3 separate regions of the Homo sapiens genome follow, and all the other regions are linked to region 1. Evidence: promoter capture Hi-C in human tissues and cell types (Jung and others, 2019). All regions are on one chromosome and are shown on one strand. Each heading gives the region's core, a stretch centred on a gene start or on the middle of the fragment in contact. The rest is flanking DNA. Distances are from core to core; before and after follow the strand shown. Region 1 holds the start of SLC6A7 (solute carrier family 6 member 7). Region 2 overlaps HMGXB3 (HMG-box containing 3). Region 3 overlaps TCOF1 (treacle ribosome biogenesis factor 1).

Region 1 (3,847 bases), core at 750-3,249:
CTAGAGGGCAGAGCCTGGGTGAGGTCAGACTCCTAGGTTATAGACATGATCCTGTCTTTACTGAATCACTGAGTGATTTTGCAAATCCTGCCCCTCTGGGTCTCAGTTTCCCTATCTGAAAGGCATGGGCCTAGATCCATTTGCACCTCACAGTCCCAGTGACTGCCACAGTGGCTCAGTGGTCACCCCCTGATGTGTCTGCTCAAGGGAAGCTAAAGCCCTGGTCCACTCCCTTCTTCTCCCCCAGGGCTGGGTCCGTGAAGTGGGAGGAGCAGGTGCTGCTAGGAAGGGTCATAAAGAGGCCAGTCTTCTTGGCTCCTGAGCCAACTGCCTCATCCCTGCTCGCTGTCCCTGTGGCCCTCTGTGCCTTCCAAAGGGTCTCATGAAACCCAAGTGCCAATGGGAGGGAGTGGTTGAGCAAGGTTGAGCCTCTTTTGTACAAGATGCATTGACAAGCCTTGGGTGAGGGATGGGGAAGTTTCCTGCCTGGGCCTCCTTGGATTCAGGAGCCCTTGGCTTCTGCCTTTCCCAGCCATGACCCACAGCTTTCCTGGCTTCATCCCCAACGCCCAGTGCATGACTTCACTCCTCTGGGACAGTTTCCACAGGTGTAAAATGAGATGCACAAACATGTCTTCCCAGACAGTTGGAAAGAATTAAAAATTAGATGTTGGATGCAAAAATCCTTCATAATGCACACAGTAGGGCTCCATAAATGCTCCTTCTCTTCACACTCACAGCCACTCTTGGCCCCATATGGGTCAGCAGGCAGGGGGCAGAGGAGACACCTTCCTCCTGGGTCTGGAGAGCCCCTGGTTTGCCCTTTGTGGCCAGGCTCAAAGGGGAGAGAAGTTTGACAGGACCTGGGCAGGGGAAGGGGTGGACTGGAGCCTGGCCAGGCCTTTACCCAAGTCCATGCTTTGACTTAAACCCCTCCAACCTTTTTTCAAGCTCCAGAGGTGGGAGAGAGCAGAACCTTATTCTCATCTCTCCCCAAAGGCCTCCCACCGTGTCAACTGATAGTGAGCCAAACAGATGTATGGTTAATGTCTAAACTGGGACACTTGCGAGGGTGAAAAGGACACAATTTGTAATGTATATACTGATCCGCTAGTGTCTATCAGTCAGTCCCAGCAAACCAACGTGTGCCATTGCTCCAGCTCATCATTTCCCATCCTAGCCACAGGCTCACTGGACCCTCAGAACATTCTGAGGCAACAATGCATGGGCGGCTCGTGGCCCATTTTACAGATATGAAATTAGAACTTTCCAGAAGCCATACTGCTGCTGGACAGGAAACCAGTTACTAATCATCTAAGTCACAGATCACAGTGACACTGTGGCACTTGCCTGTCCCTTCTGCTCACCCAAACCTCCCCATTTTGCTTTCATCTTAAGGAAAGGAGGAGAGTTGAAGACTCTACTAGCCTAAAGGTCCATGAAGCCTGACTCTGTCCCTGGTGTCACTCATTAGCCCCGTGACTTTGAGTAAGTAACTTAACTTCCCTGTCCCTCAGCTTCCTCATCTGTAGAATAGGAGTAACGACACCTGTCTCTCCAGGTTGAGAAAATAGGACACCTAGTTCAGGACCTGGCACATTTTAGGTGCTCAATAAATACTGATAGATTGAATAATTGGACTAATGGTGGCGTGGGCAACCCACAGTCAGTGAATAAATGTTAACTGAGCACCTACTATGTGTCAGGCTCTTTGTGCTAGATGTTTTCTATGCTCCATCTTCCTGAATTGCTCACACTCCTGTAAGAGAGGAGAGATTCTTATCCCCTAAGGTCGCACAGCAAAGACGACGCAGGGGGGTGGGCTGTTAGTGTTCCTTGCCCAACTGTGGAAAGGGAGTCCCAGAGAGGGCAGGTCGCTTGCCCAAGGTCACGCAGAAAGCCGAGGGTTTCCGTCGCGAACCCCCCTCCCCACTCGCTCAGGGCTCTCCAATCCGCAGCTCTGCGTGCGGGGGCGCGCGCATCCCCCCGCCGTCCGTCCGTCAGCTGTCTGTCTGGGTGTCTATGCGGGCGCAGCAGTGCACCCTTCCCCAGCCTCGGGCGCTGCGCAGGGACAGACAAGGCATTCGCAGCGCCCTGCCCGCGCTCCACGCCCGCAGCCGCCAGACGGCAGCGCCTGCGTCCGTGCCCGCCCCAGCCGGTGCGCGGGAGCCGCGGGGGCAAAGGCGCAGTGGCCAGCGGACCATCTCTCGTGCCCTCGCTCTCTGCGCTCCGGGGCAGCTGAGCCCCGGCCACCCGCTCTCCAAGATGAAGAAGCTCCAGGGAGCTCACCTCCGCAAGGTAGGGCACGAGGGCGGGGGCGCTGGGGGTGCACCTGGAGGAGGGTTGGAGAGACCCGCCCCCAACGAGGCCCCTGGGGAAGGTCTGAGGATGCACCCAGACCAGCTTCGGGCTCTGGGGAAGGCCCGACTCAGCTGGATAACAGGGAGGGTCAGGGTCACGGTCTGCGCCCCCACCTCTGCCCCTGCCATCTGGGGTTCGGGATGTAGTATGAGGGGAGTCCTGGTTCACTGGGCCAGGCCTATGAACAGGTGTCTGCAGTCCCCGGAGGCGCGGGGTAGGGGCGGCCGGGGCCAGGCACCCACCTCTTCCCCAATTCCACCCTGCTGCTCCCCGCCAGGAGCTGATTGCCGGGTGTGGGGGGTATTGGAATACCTGAGCGTTGAGCTGGACTCATCTGAGGGGTGGGGAGTGGGAGGCGGTCATCCATACTGAAGCCGGCTCCCTGAGCCTGCGGGAAGACTCTCCTCTTTCCTGCCTGCTCCCTCCCCGCCCCCTTAGCTTGCCTGCTGAGACCCCAGGCTGCCCCTCAGCAGGGCTGAAGGGAGGCAAAGACAGGGAGGGGGCTATCGGAGGCAGGAGGATATGATCAATGAAGATGGAAGCTGGTATGGGAGAGTGGCTGTGGGCCCAGACCTCAGGCTCTCCCTACCTTGCCTTGTGGGATTGGACCTCTCAGCCAAGCTGTCAGGATATGGGGAGGGGGAATACTGGGGGACGTTTTCTGGCTTGTACCAGTCCTAACTAAGGAGTCAGATCTCCTGAATACTATTTCTGCCGCTGCCACTTGCCTGGTGACTTTGGACAAGTTCATTCTCTAACCTGAACCTCCTCTGGCTAAGCCCTAGCCTGGAGGCACCAAAACAGGCCCCACTGGGTGTGTGAGGTGTGGGGAAGAATGCTAAAGGGCTGGTAGATGTGAGAAGACTGTTCTCAGGGGCTGGTGTTATCAACCTCCCTACATACACACACATTCACACTCACACTCACTCACACACACACTCATTCATTCAAGTTCTCTGCTCTGGGGCAGCTGGGCTTGGAACCACTGTGGTGTGTCTTTTTTCTTTTTCTTGTTTTTTTTTTTTGAGACGGAGTCTCGCTCTGTCACCCAGGTTGGAGTGCAGTGGTGTGATCTCGGCTCACTGCAAGCTCTGCCTCCCGGGTTCACGCCATTCTCCTGCCTCAGCCTCCCGAGTAGCTGGGACTATAGGCGCCCGCCACCACGCCTGGCTAATGTTTTGTATTTTTAGTAGAGACGGGGTTTCACCGTGTTAGCCAGGATGGTCTTGATCTTCTGACCTCGTGATCCGCCCGCCTCGGCCTCCCAAAGTGCTGGGATTACAGGTGTGAGTCACTGCGCCCAGCTGGTATGTCTTTTTTATTCACTGACATGAGTGACTTCTTGAGACCATTTGTGAGTCTCTTGGGTCCTGTTTCCATTCTTTTCCACTCTCCTTCTCTTCCCTCTCTGCCCTCCCTCCCCACAAGAGGCCCTGTCCCTCTTGCTGGGTGCTGGGCTGGGGGGTTAGCAAGCTTTATCTCATTT
Region 2 (3,847 bases), core at 344-2,843, 180 kb before region 1:
AATCTTTGTGTTAAAGGGGTGGGTGGGTACTGTATCCCATGAATATAAGTGAAAAGTATTTCTAAGGCAGTGGTCACAAACTTGCCCGGTCTGAGGAATCACCTGAGGCATTTGTTAAGCATGTGGATTTCCATACCCTCGGGAGATTCTGCTCCAGGAGGGCTGAAGTGGAGCTCTGGAATCTTGTGTGTTAAACAACCAAGCCAGGTGCTTCTTAGGATATATTGGGTTTGGGAAATGTCTAAGCCTTAAGGCACTGGCAGAGGTAAGGGGTTATTTGATCAGGAAGCTGCTGCCCCTCTTAGGGGAGATTCTGGAAACTTTATTTTGACTTTCCTTTCCTTTAGCCATGGACGCATCATATGATGGTACTGAGGTAACTGTCGTGATGGAGGAAATTGAGGAAGCCTATTGTTACACCTCTCCTGGGCCACCCAAGAAGAAGAAAAAGTATAAAATACATGGAGAAAAGACAAAGAAACCCAGGTTAGCCAACACATTTTGGTTGCTGCTAGCATTTATAAACAGAAGTTGCTTGGAGAGCTGCATTGAGGAAAACTTTTAAGACTCTTTGAAAAAGAGTGTTATGATTGAAGTCCTGTGTCGAGGGATGAGGAGTGGGAAGTGGAGGGATTTCTGCCAGCATTGCCATTACTGGCCAGACTTTGCTTTTGTTTTCAAGTTGTCACAGGAAATTGTACCATACTGATGGTAGAAGCTAGGTACAAAAGAGCTACATTATTTATTATTATGCCATTGTTGTTATTTAAACATTTAAAACAAAGCATTAATAAAATTACAAAATTAGAAATAAGGCTGGGCGTGATGGCTCATGCCTGTAATCCCAGCAGTTTGGAAGGCTGAGACGGGTGGATCACCTGAGGTCAGGAGTTCGAGACCAGCCTGACCAACGTGGAGAAACCCCGTCTCTACTAAAAATACAAAATTAGCCGGGCGTGGTGGCGCACACCTGTAATCCCAGCTGCTTGGGAGGCTGAGGCAAGAGAATCACTTGAATCTGGGAGGCGGAGGTTGCGGTGAGCCAAGATTGTGCCATTGCACTACAGCTTGGCCAACAAGAACGAAACTCCTCTCAAAAAAAAAAAAAAAAGAAAAGAAAAAGAAAAAAAACACACAAAAAGAAATAATACCAATTATATCTGTACAGAATATCCAAATTGTAGCTCTAACTTCACTCTTGACTGTGAATACCTCAAACTTGTGAAACTACCAGCATTGGTCATTTTGATTGGTCTGCTTGCTTCCCTCTCTCATCCTTGGGGAGGTGCCATTGACCAGGTTGGTGACCAAAGGCTGCGTAGAGGAGCACGGAGTGTGAGTGATAACCAGCCCCTTGAGGAAGCTTTCCCTGAGAGTGGAATGACAGGACAGGACACCTGTATCTATCTTTGCTTTAAAATCATTCCTGCACAAAAAGCGATCTTTAGGAAAGCCAGTCAAATGAGCCTTTGCTTCCAGGTTTCTGAAGGGGAAACAGCCACTTGCTATCTTTACCATTCATTTTCCCCTCCTCCCTTGGAGCCCCTTATCTTCCTGGGTAGTTACTCCTGACTGTAATATAGTGGCTCTAATGTAGTAACTTTAATATGGTAGCTTATATAAGCATTTCTCCTATACCATGAGTTTTTATATTACAAATTGAATGTAATATAATTTGTGTTGTACTGACAGCTATCAGTTATAATCAGGAATAAGATTATAACTTATTATAACACCATCTGAGGATGTTATTTAAATGTTTGTTTGCTTGACTTTCAGTCCCTATTTAGATAAATGCTTAGAAATGAGAAGCTAGGTTTTATCAACCTCTTGACTACCCATATCTTAGCATAGTAGTACTTACTGGTTGAATGAAGTCCTGGGTCGAGGGATGGGGAGTGGGAAGTGGAGGGATTTCTGCCAGCATTGCCATTACTGGGAAAGCCTGAAGAAGTCATTGCTTCCTCAGGTCTGCTTACCTTCTGTACTATTACGACATCTACCTGAAAGTGCAGCAGGAGCTCCCCCACCTCCCTCAGTCTGAGATCAATAAGAAGATTAGTGAGAGTTGGAGGCTTCTCAGCGTGGCCGAGAGGAGTTACTACTTGGAGAAAGCCAAACTAGAGAAGGAAGGTTTGGATCCTGTAAGTAATTTTTTTTTCCAGCTATTTTTTCCACTGGTTCAGTGATGAAGGCCTTGGGAAAACCAAGCCCCTTGTTCTGTTTCCTTTTCTTTTTTTGGGAAAAGTTTCATCGTTTTATCCTTCTTGACTCTGGGCTTGCTTGTTTCCATTTTGATAATGCCCTGCACTCTCTTGTCCTCTTCGGTTGCAGCAATACGTGGAGCTGACATTTTTTTGTGTTTTCTGCAGTGAGCCTTAGGTTCCTTTTCTAAATTTTAGTGTAACTTGGAGCCCCTCATAGTTACTATAAATAGTAGCTTTAATGTAGTAAACTTTAATATAGTAGTTTATATAGGCATTTCTCCTACGCCATGAGTTTTCATATTACAGATTGAATGTAGTATATTGTACTAACTGCTATCAGTTATAATCAGGAATAAGGTTTGCATGTTTAGAGGTAGATAGAGCTGCTTGTGTAATACAGTACCACATTATTTTGTTAGCACTGGTGGTTGGAAACTATGCTGAAAGCAAAAATGCAAGTAAAGCCAAAGATGGTGGAGGAGACCAAGGCTTTGGGTGCTTGGGTTAAAGGACTAACAAGGAAGCATTTAGAATTATGTCTGTCAGCATTTTCTTATTTCTAGTTCACAGTAACAAAATACACTGACAGCTATTTAAACTGCTGGGTTTTTGTTTTTTTGAGAGTATCCCTGTCATGGCATAAACTGCTGTTTTTTTAAACTGAAATTCCTGCAGGAAGAATAACCTTGCTGTTGCAGGCTGGAACCTTTTATCCTTAACTCCTTATTTCAATAGAAACAGTTGTCTGTAACTTCTATTTTGGTAATGTAGAGCAACAGCAACAACTACGTTATAGCAGAACAGGTTGTATTTTCCCTTATTGGAGCTCATCAGCTACTGCCATTTAAATTATTTTGTGCTTATTGGCCTGGCATTCTTCTTTCTGGGAGAGCTTTGTCTTACCTACAGGCTTGGAGATGCTACTCTCTGCTCCCTCCTCTAGGTGATTTGTTTATTAACAGTGAATCTGGGAAATAATCCCTATAGTGGAGTGGAGATGGAGTCTAAGAAAAGCTTATCTACTCCCTTTGGTTTCCTTATTATAATAAAATCAGCTGTCTAGGCTGGGTGTGGTAGCTCATGCCCGTAATCCCAGCACTTTAGGAGGCTGAGGTGGGAGGATCACTTGAGCCCAGGAGTTTAAGACTAGCCTGGGCAAGTTGGCGAAACTCTATCTCTACAAAAAATAGGAAAAGATTAGCCAGGCGTGGTGGCATACACCTGTAGTCCCAGCCACTCAGGAAGCTGATGTGGGAGGATCACTTGAGCCGGGGAAGTGGAGGTTGCAGTGAGCCGTGATTGTGCCACTGCACTCTAGCCTGGGCAACAGAGTGAGACTCTGTTTCACACACACACACACACACACACACACACACACACACACACACAAATCAGCAATCTTTTTGTGCATGATAAAATCCTACGTAATCCTGGAGTGATTTGATTTTTAAAACTACACACTAATGTAGATCATTATCAAGACTTTAAAAAAATTTAAATCATCTGCAATGATTCTTCCTTATTTACATGCTTATTTCTATCTACCACTATCTCTACCACTGCCACCAAGAACATGAGTAGGTTAGTTCTGATAATAGCTGAGTGACCATTTTAACTTTTGAGTCTTGGTTTCCTCATCT
Region 3 (3,847 bases), core at 549-3,048, 180 kb after region 1:
AAGGGACCCTACTATCACATCCCAAACCATGACAGAGCAGAGTCCATCGCAGCTGGGAAACCTGGGGCCTAGACAGTGACTCCCTGGGATGGGGGTCAATGGGCGTGAGACTTCAAAGTCCAGGGCCTCAGCCATCTGGGTGCTTATCCTACCCATGCCCTAGACTCACTTTGCCATGAGCAAGTCACTTAGTTGTTCAGTTTTTGAGACATGTGTGAGGCACTGAGGATACTGTAGTGAGCTGCCAGCTGCCTTCCTCCCTGGGCCTTTCTGTGTAGGGGAGGAGTCTAGGAAGTAAGTAAAATAACAGGAGATAGAGAAAAGCTATGAAGAAAATGAAACAGGATCACAGGGCAGAGCATGCCTTGGAAGAGGGGCAATCTTCGAGGGCCTCTCTTGGGGGGCTACATTAAAGTTGAGACGGGAAGGACGAGGACCTGGGCAGAGTCTTCCAAGAAGGCACAGTACACACAGCATGTTCTGCAGGGGGAAGAGCCTGGGCGGTTCTGTGAGGTGCCTGCATGGGTCAGCTCCTATCACTTAAAGACTGGTAGCTGCTGCAGCTGTTATATAACATTATCCAGCATTCCTGATTATTTTAAAGACTAATCAAGAATTGTAAAAGCACTTTATGAAGTGAGTGAAAATGCAGAATACAAAATTGTGCCTATACTGTGTTTTCACCACTGTTTAGATTCTATGCACATTGCCTTTAAGAGCTGGAAGGATGCGGGAAGGTCTGTCTAGTCAATTCTTGTGGAGTTGTTCTGTCACCCAGTTGGTATAGACAGTCACCCTTGTCCTGCAGAACCTCAGAGCTTGGTCGGAAGCGGAAGGCAGAGGAAGATGCGGCACTGCAAGCTAAGAAAACCCGTGTGTCAGACCCCATCAGCACCTCGGAGAGCTCGGAAGAGGAGGAAGAAGCAGAAGCCGAAACCGCCAAAGCCAGTAAGAGCCTTGCAGCTTTGGGAACAGGCTATGGAATATTGATTGTTCTAGGGTAGAGTCTACCTCCAGCTTCTTCTCTTATCACTAGAAGACCTAAAAGACCCTGGGGAGGAGATTGGGAGGGCACCACATATCTTTGGCAGTATTTGAGCCCTTCCTCCGTGCCAGGCATTATATCTCCATGCTCTGGGGGTGCAAGGCCGAACCAAAACAACCAGATGGGCCCTTCCAGTCTCATTTGGTGTATGGGGCCCAGGAGCTGCCCTATTACAGGCTCCCAGGTGATTCTTATTAGCTGGAAAGAAGACACACGTTCAGAAGTACTGCTGGAGGGATTTCAGAAAGCAGCTAGCGGACACATTTTCTGTGTGACCTGTGGGATGCTTTAGGAATTGCTGATCTTCATGTTCATTTAGAATTGTACCCATTAGCACTGGAACGCTGTACTGGGCACTGGTTTTACACCGTTTGCAGGAGTAACTCAGTCAAAGCTTTTATAGCCCCTTCTTCTCCTAAGGTCCCAGGGCTCCTTGTACTTTCCCCAACAGCAGCCATAACTCTACAGAGGAATTGCTGTGTCTCCTTTGCATCGTATTATCTTCTTTTGCTTACATAGAAGACACATTTCTTAATACTTATTTTTTATTTTTCAAGACAAAGTCTTGCCATGTTGTCCAGGCTGGTCTTGAACTCCTGAGCTCAAGTGATCCTCCTGCCTTAGCCTCTTGAGTAGGTGGAATTCCATGCACATACCACCATGCCCAGCTTCCTGAGTCTGCTTTTAAAGTGTTTGAGATCATACTAGGTATATATTTTATTATTTTTTTGAGACGGGGTTTCACTCTTGTCACCCAGGCTGGAGCACAATGGCGTGATGTCAGCTCAGGGCAACCCCCGCCTCCTGGGTTCAAGTGATTCTCCTGCCTCAGCCTCCCGAGTAGCTGGGACTACAGGCATGCACCACTACTGTCAGCTAATTTTGTGGGTTTTCTTTTTCTTTCTTTTTTTTTTTTTTTTTTTTAATAGAGACGGGGTTTCACAATGTTAGCCAGACTAGTCTCAGGTGATCCGCCCACCTTGGCCTCCAAAAGGGCTGGGATTACAGGCATGAGCCACTGCGCCCTGGATATATATTATATATCGCTTAATTTTACATTATAAATGCAAAACGAGTTCACTTTGAACTGTAGAAGAGCATATAGAAGAAAACTTAAAGGTTTTTTGTTGTCCTACCCTGTTCCCTATCATTCCTAAGTGCATCTCCTCATAGGTAACCTTTAAAACTTCCTCCTTTGCCTCTATATTCATTCAAACATGTATTCTTACATGCATATATACAGACCTGCATGCTATTTGAAACACAAATGGTAAAATTTCTTACTGATTGGCTATTTGGTATTAATCAATTTTATAAGCTGTGATAATGGAGGTGTAATTACATTTTTTTGTTTGTTTGTTTGGGGCTTTTTTTGATATGAGGTCTTGCCATGTTGCCTAGACTGGCCTTGAACTCCTGGCCTCAAGTGATCCTCCTGCCTCAGCCTCCGGGTATGTAATTTTATTTTTTTAAAAGTCTTCACTGGGTTGGGCATGGTGGCTCACACCCACCGGTAATCCCAGCACTTTGGGAGGTCAAGGTAGAAGGATCACTTGAGCCCAGGAGTTGGAGACCCGCCTGGGCAACATGGCAAAACCCTGTATCTACAAAAAATTTAAAATTTAGCCAGGCATGGTGGCGTGTGCTTGTAGTTTCAGCTGCCTAGGAGGCCTGAGGTGGGAGGATTACTTGAGCCCAGGAGGTCAAGGCTACAGTGAGCCATGACTGTGCCTGCACTCCAGCCTGGGCAACAGAGCAAGACTGTCTCAAAAAAAAAAAAAAAAGGAAGAAGAGTCCTCGTTGGCATCCTGGGCAACATAGTGAGACTCCGTCTCTGCAAAAAATAAGAAAATTAGCTGGGCATGGTGGCATGCACTGGTGGTCCCAGCTACTCAGGAGGCTGAGATAGGAGAATCATGTGAGTCCAGGCATTGGAGGTTGCAGTGAGCTATGAATGTGCCACTGTACTCCAGCCTGGGCAGCAGAGCAAGACCCTGTCTCAAAAAAAATTTAAAAACGCATCCTCATTGAGAGAGAAACATGCTGAAGTATTTGTGGGCAACGTGGTAGGATCTATGGCATTTTCTTCAAAGTAATGCTTGATGGGGAAGGGTGAGTGAGATAATACATGAGATGAAAAGATTGGTCACAAGTTGTTAATGGTTGGAGCTGCCTGGTTCTTCCTTTCTATTTACTACTTAAAAATTTTCCATAATTACAGAAAGAGAGAGATGGAGTGAAGTGCCAGGAAAAGAATTAGATCATGCCATTCATCTCAGCAACATTCTTCTTTTTTTTTTTTTTTTTTTTTTTTTTGAGACGGAGTCTCGCTCTGTCGCCCAGGTCGGACTGCGGACTGCAGTGGCGCAATCTCGGCTCACTGCAAGCTCCGCTTCCCGGGTTCACGCCATTCTCCTGCCTCAGCCTCCCGAGTAGCTGGGACTACAGGCGCCCGCCACCGCGCCCGGCTAATTTTTTGTATTTTTAGTAGAGACGGGGTTTCACCTTGTTAGCCAGGATGGTCTCGATCTCCTGACCTCATGATCCACCCGCCTCGGCCTCCCAAAGTGCTGGGATTACAGGCGTGAGGCCACCGCGCCCGGCCCAACATTCTTCTTAACAAAAAGAAATCTGAGATTTAAGGAGACAATACCCTGGTATAAAAGCACTGAGAAGCTGGGTGCGGTGGCTCATGCCTGTAATCCCAGCACTTTGGGAGGCCGAGGTGGGCAGATCACGAGGTCAGGAGATCAAGACCATCCTAGCTAACACGGTGAAACCCCGTCTCTATTAAAAATACAA

What was found. The method cuts DNA at HindIII sites, captures the fragments that hold promoters and counts their contacts. A contact is called where the count stands out against the background at its distance.
Region 2: a contact is called between a fragment that was not itself captured here and the fragment with the promoter of SLC6A7 in region 1, in 3 of the 25 tissues and cell types used here (H1 embryonic stem cells, aorta and pancreas).
Region 3: a fragment that was not itself captured here is called in contact with the fragment with the promoter of SLC6A7 in region 1 in 2 of the 25 tissues and cell types used here (IMR-90 fibroblasts and mesenchymal stem cells).

Annotation. Positions count from the first base shown.
Region 1 is chr5:150,188,063-150,191,909 of GRCh38, forward strand. SLC6A7 (solute carrier family 6 member 7) reads left to right here and starts at 2,000. Exons shown (of 14, transcript NM_014228.5): 1 at 2,000-2,298. The coding sequence starts at 2,266. The HindIII fragment of the contact is 16,922 bases long and covers 1-3,847 here.
Region 2 is chr5:150,004,504-150,008,350 of GRCh38, forward strand. HMGXB3 (HMG-box containing 3) reads left to right here. Exons shown (of 20, transcript NM_014983.3): 2 at 348-486; 3 at 1,970-2,144. The coding sequence starts at 350. Among named protein-coding and RNA genes, the nearest start is that of HMGXB3, 5.7 kb to the left of the region's middle. The HindIII fragment of the contact is 4,061 bases long and covers 1-3,624 here.
Region 3 is chr5:150,363,305-150,367,151 of GRCh38, forward strand. It overlaps TCOF1 (treacle ribosome biogenesis factor 1), which reads left to right. Exons shown (of 27, transcript NM_001371623.1): 3 at 809-948. Among named protein-coding and RNA genes, the nearest start is that of TCOF1, 7.5 kb to the left of the region's middle. The HindIII fragment of the contact is 7,992 bases long and covers 1-3,847 here.